Linked DNA regions of Homo sapiens: region 2 is linked to region 1. Evidence: promoter capture Hi-C in human tissues and cell types (Jung and others, 2019). All regions are on one chromosome and are shown on one strand. The core of a region is centred on a gene start or on the middle of the fragment in contact, and the rest is flanking DNA. Distances in the headings are between cores, read along the strand shown.

The links. Contacts are between HindIII fragments. The study calls those that stand out against the background at their distance.
Region 2: a fragment that was not itself captured here is called in contact with the fragment with the promoter of LY6K in region 1 in 1 of the 25 tissues and cell types used here (dorsolateral prefrontal cortex).

The regions. Positions count from the first base shown.
Region 1 is chr8:142,698,677-142,701,538 of GRCh38, forward strand. It overlaps LY6K (lymphocyte antigen 6 family member K), which reads left to right and starts at 1,435. Exons shown (of 3, transcript NM_017527.4): 1 at 1,435-1,954. The coding sequence starts at 1,852. LOC124902032 (a long non-coding RNA gene) reads right to left here and starts at 1,008. Exons shown (of 2, transcript XR_007061133.1): 1 at 1-1,008. The HindIII fragment of the contact is 17,981 bases long and covers 1-2,862 here.
Region 2 is chr8:142,540,255-142,543,058 of GRCh38, forward strand. It overlaps ADGRB1 (adhesion G protein-coupled receptor B1), which reads left to right. Exons shown (of 31, transcript NM_001702.3): 28 at 1,687-2,393. Among named protein-coding and RNA genes, the nearest start is that of ARC, 73 kb to the right of the region's middle. The HindIII fragment of the contact is 5,772 bases long and covers 1-2,804 here.

The sequences.
Region 1 (2,862 bases), core at 185-2,684:
GAGAACTCCATCACAAGAACAGCACCAAAGGGATAGTGCTAAACCATTCATGAAGGACCACCCCTATGATCCAATCACCTCCCACCAGGCCCCACCCCCAACACTGGGGATTACAATTCAACATGAGATTTGGGTGGGGACACAGATCCAAACTATATCACAACTGTAAAAAAAAAAAAAAGACAAAGAAGAAAGCAAAGAAAGGAAAAGAGTGTGAAATTCCTGCTCCTGCCTGTGTTAACAGAGGGCCTCTATACAGAGGGTTGAGAGGAGAAAGCAGGGTGGAGAACACCACCTGTGGATTGCCCTTTGGGGCCTACTCACATGGGCCCAATTTCTCGTAAAACTAGTATTTAGGGTTTCTTTTGAATAAACATAGAAATTGGCCCACCCTGTCTTAAAACTTGGGAAAGTTACATTTGTCTTATCTGAGCTCCTTTCTCAGGAAACCAACCATCGGGCCTCCCAGACAGTATCAAGGCGCTGAAACTCAGTAGGTCCTTGAGGCCAGACCCCTCACCAGTCATGACTGCCTAGCTGCCTCCTCACTCTCCCTAATTCCTGTTTTCCCACACAGGGTGACATTTCTTCCCTGCTCTGGAAACTTCTAATTTTAGTGGGCTGAGGAGAGGGATTTGTGACTGAGCGCCCATCTCTGGGCTGTAGCACTTGAATGAGGCCTTCTTCCCTGGCACTGCTGTTGGTGATTGGCTTTCTGTGCAGGGCAGGGGGCCTAGATGACAACCCTGATGTTTGGGTAGCACTGTCACTGTGAGAGGCATGGAAATCCTCCAGTTCTTAGTCTTCTTGGAGGAAGGAATTCAGACAAGAGATGCCTAGCAAGAGGTATAGGGTTAAGTAACCTTTATTTAAAGAGTCAGGATCTCAGAGAGACAAGACAGAACCTGCCACTCAGGAGATAGAGCCAAAAGCTAGTGACTTAGGAGGAATTCTTTTCTTTCTCTTTTTTTTTTTATTTTTTTGAGACAGAGTCTCGCTCTGTGGCCCAGGCTGGAGTGCAGTGGCGCGATCTCGGCTCACTGCAAGCTCCACCTCCCGGGTTCACGCCATTCTCCTGCCTCAGCCTCCCGAGTAGCTGGGACTACAGGCGCCAGGAGGAATTCTTATTTGAGCTTTTAGTTAAGGAAAACAGTACAGCTTGAAAGAGGAACTGCTCAAAAGAATGAGTCAGTCGCTACTCACGCTGGGGAGACCCTCTTGATGAGAGTTTTACAGGATTACTCACGAACGGCCCAGGCAGGGGCCTTACTAGTAAGCACGTTTTGGGAAGTCCTCAGGGCACGCAGGCACCGTGACCTCACACACTAGTGCGCTGGAGTGTGTCATTAGCATCTGGAATCTCTCCCCAGGGATGTGGTTTTTGTTTTTTTTTTTTTTTTTGGTATTATAATGAGCTAAAAGCTATTCAGGGGCGAGTTATCAGAGGTGAGCCCGTGCTCTTCAGCGGAGAAGATCCCCTACCTGGCCGCCGGCCACTTTCTGTGGGCCGTGGGGTCCTCAAGGAGACGGCCCTTGGGCTCAGGGGCTGCGTTTCCACACGCGCCTTTCCCAGGGCTCCCGCGCCCGTTCCTGCCTGGCCGCCGGCCGCTCCAACAGCAGCACAAGGCGGGACTCAGAACCGGCGTTCAGGGCCGCCAGCGGCCGCGAGGCCCTGAGATGAGGCTCCAAAGACCCCGACAGGCCCCGGCGGGTGGGAGGCGCGCGCCCCGGGGCGGGCGGGGCTCCCCCTACCGGCCAGACCCGGGGAGAGGCGCGCGGAGGCTGCGAAGGTTCCAGAAGGGCGGGGAGGGGGCGCCGCGCGCTGACCCTCCCTGGGCACCGCTGGGGACGATGGCGCTGCTCGCCTTGCTGCTGGTCGTGGCCCTACCGCGGGTGTGGACAGACGCCAACCTGACTGCGAGACAACGAGATCCAGAGGACTCCCAGCGAACGGGTGAGCCTGGCTCGCCCTCCACAGCCACGGGCCGAGAGGACAGGGCCGGGCGGCGTCTGCCTGGCACCGCGTGGCCACCGCCCCGACCAGGCCGTGAGAACGGAGCGTTCAGGCGGCCCGTGGCGCCTGGAAGCCTCTGGGGAGCCTCGCCTCGTGCGGCTTCCACCAGGGCGGCGGGGCAGCCTGAGCCCGGCCCTTCCCCAGCCCTTGCCCCGCTCCGGCCGCGCTTCCCCGGGAGCCCTCAGGCTGCAGGCTCCCGCCGGCCTGGCCTCCGGGGGCTTCACGGGCTGAGAACCGTTCAAGCTGCGGGAGGAGGGCCGGCTCCTCCTGCAGAGCTAGGCCAGGCCCAACCCAGACCCAAGGGAGAACTCCTTTGAGGGAGTCGGGGGGCAGGACCTGGGAGGTGGGTGGACCTGGGAGGTGGGCGGGAGGGCACGTGGGAGCAGACCCAAGCCCCAGGGTCACTTCCACAGCCGTCGGCCGGGAGATGCCAGGGCCCGTGGGTGCCGCGTGGCCGACCTGGGGTCAGGGTGCTGCGGCCGAGTGGGGGTGCGCTGTGCGCTCATGTTGTGTGCTTGGATGTGGGAGGACGGGGGAGCCCCCAGGAGAGAAGAAAAATCACTCAGAATGTAAAGAAGTCCGGGGGCTGGGCAATTTATAAAGAAGAGAGGTGGAATTGGCTCACAGTTCCACAGGCTGTCCAGGAAGCGTGGTGCTGGCTTCTGGGGAGGCCTCAGGGCACTTACAATCATGGGGGAAGGCGAAGGGGAAGCGGGCAGCTCTTACGTGGCCGGAGACCCCTCCTGCTTTCTCCCCATGCGGCTCACTCGAGTCATGTGGCCCCAGCCACTGCTCAGGGGGAGAAGGATGGGGACCCGCCGAGTTTGTGCTGGTCGGATGCCGGCTGT
Region 2 (2,804 bases), core at 255-2,754, 160 kb before region 1:
GCTTCCTGGAGGAAGTGACTTCGGGGCTGGGCTGAATGGGAGCTGGACAAAAAGCACCTTCTGCCCCCTTGGGGTCTCCTGTGAACCAGTCCCACAGCCTCTCAGAGGGGTGACCCTAGGACTTGGGGCCTCAGGTGGCTTGGGTGTATGTGGGCCTCTCTGAGCCCCTGATTCCCTCTCATTCATGCGCTGGCTACAGCGCCTGGTGGATCCACATGCAGCTGGTGGATGCGCCATGAGCAGCTGGTGCTGAGCGCCTGGGAGCTTCCTCAGAGCGGGAGGGTGGGCGGGGTGCCAGCGAGGGGCCTGGGCCTGGGGGGAGCTTGGCTTTTATTGTGCCCCAAGGTGGGTACATGCGAGGGAGGCACATAGACCCCTCACGTGCCAGGCGCTCGTTCTGCCTTGTGGGGAGCAAAGTGTGAGGTGTGTGGGAGGTCGGGAGCCCCAGGGTCTGTGCGGGGTGGGGCGGCCTTGGGGACGTGCGTCCCGAGAGTGCTGTGGCTGTCTGGGTGGGGCATGTGGGTCTGACGGGGAGGATGACGGGTCACTCTTGGGTAGGGACGAGGGAAGGGGCGGGGCTGAAAATGGGCACAGGGTGTTGCTGTCCAGAGGGTGGAGGAGAGGACCAGGCCGGGAGCATGGCCTGCTGAGCTCTGAGGGGGACGGGGAAGCCTGTGTTCGGGAGAGAGAGTGACCCCTGGCTAGGCAGCTTGGGGGGCATTGGTGACCCTGGGGCCCGTGTGCCTGGCAAGGTGGCTGAAGGGAGCAGCTGGTGAACACAGGCACCCAGGGCTGGCTTGGCGTGGTGGGTAACCATCTGCCAGCCTGCATGGGGCAGGACACAGGGGGCAGGCCAGGCTTCCCAGGAAGGGCCCTGGGGTCTGGATCTTTGGAGACTGGGGCTTGGAGAAAGGAGGGGTGTGGAGGGTGGGCACCCCTCTGTCAGGGGCAGGCGGCTGGGTCAGAGTCAGCTTGGGGTTCTCCGCCAGCCAGTAGGGGCTAGATTCATTGGCAGGAAGTCGGGGGCAAACTGGAGCCCCACTCAGAGGTCAAGGCGGCTGGGCCCCTTGCAACTGACCAGAGACAGAATCAGAGGTGTCTGGGTATGGAGACCTCTCTCCAGGGACCAGGCGGCCCTCAGGGCAGAGCAGGGAGGCTTGCAGGCCCCAGGGGCAGCGATGCAGGAAGGGCCGTGACAGAGGGCCAGGGCCTCGTGGCTGCACTCAGCACCACTGGGCTCCCGCACACTGCCCCCCACCCACACAAGGCCCAGGGCCGTGGGCGTCGGGAGCGTTGGAGGGCCGGCTGGGCTCTGCCACCAGCACAGACCGTTCTGCCTGTGTCCCTGTGCTTCCGGGAGTCAAGGCCGCCCTCGCCTGCTCTTCTCAGCGCTGGGGAGGGCAGTGTGTGGGTGACAGCCATTTGTCTTCTTGGGGCCAGTGGAGAGGGCCACCCTGTGTGGCAGCCTCATCTGAGGACACAGGAACCCTAGGGGCCGTAGCGCCAGGCTTGGGTAGGGTGGTACCTGCAGTTGGCCCTCCGATCGGTACCCAGCAGGACCTGGCCAGGGTCTCCCAGGAGGTGGCGGCCTCGCAGGGCAGACTGGGCCCCTCTCCTGCTGGGGACTGTCCTACGCCATCCTCACCCCCACACCTGTCCCCGCTGTCTCCCCCGCGGCCCCTGCAGTGCTGAACAAGGACATCGCGGCCTGCCGCACTGCCACCATCACGGGCACACTGAAGCGGCCGTCTCTGCCCGAGGAGGAGAAGCTGAAGCTGGCCCATGCCAAGGGGCCGCCCACCAATTTCAACAGCCTGCCGGCCAACGTGTCCAAGCTGCACCTGCACGGCTCACCCCGCTATCCCGGCGGGCCCCTGCCCGACTTCCCCAACCACTCACTGACCCTCAAGAGGGACAAGGCGCCCAAGTCCTCCTTCGTCGGTGACGGGGACATCTTCAAGAAGCTGGACTCGGAGCTGAGCCGGGCCCAGGAGAAGGCTCTGGACACGAGCTACGTGATCCTGCCCACGGCCACGGCCACGCTGCGGCCCAAGCCCAAGGAGGAGCCCAAGTACAGCATCCACATTGACCAGATGCCGCAGACCCGCCTCATCCACCTCAGCACGGCCCCCGAGGCCAGCCTCCCCGCCCGCAGCCCGCCCTCCCGCCAGCCCCCCAGCGGCGGGCCCCCCGAGGCACCCCCTGCCCAGCCCCCACCGCCTCCGCCCCCACCGCCACCACCTCCCCAGCAGCCCCTGCCCCCACCGCCCAATCTGGAGCCGGCACCCCCCAGCCTGGGGGATCCCGGGGAGCCTGCCGCCCATCCGGGACCCAGCACGGGGCCCAGCACCAAGAACGAGAATGTCGCCACCTTGTCTGTGAGCTCCCTGGAGGTGAGGGGGGCAGGGGTGGGCCACACCCCAGCCAGCGAGGGCAGGGCTGCAGCAGCTGGGTCACCCCTGCTGGGTGGGACCCCCACGCCGTCAGCGGGGCGGGCTGGCTCTGCCTCCTAGCTACACCCCCCACCCCTGGCCCTGCTGGGTGTGCTGTGTATGTCTGACGTGTGGTCCCCACCCTAGGCTTGGCAGGGTGGTCTCACCCCGTTTCAAAGGGGCTCAGGGACCCACAGTCTGGACCCACGGAGCAGGACCTGCACCTCGCACAGTCGCTAGTCCAGCCCTTGGGGCAGCCTGGCAGCACATACCTGCCTAGGTCAGCCTGGAGCCTGCAGCTGACCCAGCCTCAGTCAGCCTGTAGGATGTTGTTTTTGGGGGAGCCCGTCCCCACAGGATATGCTCCCACCA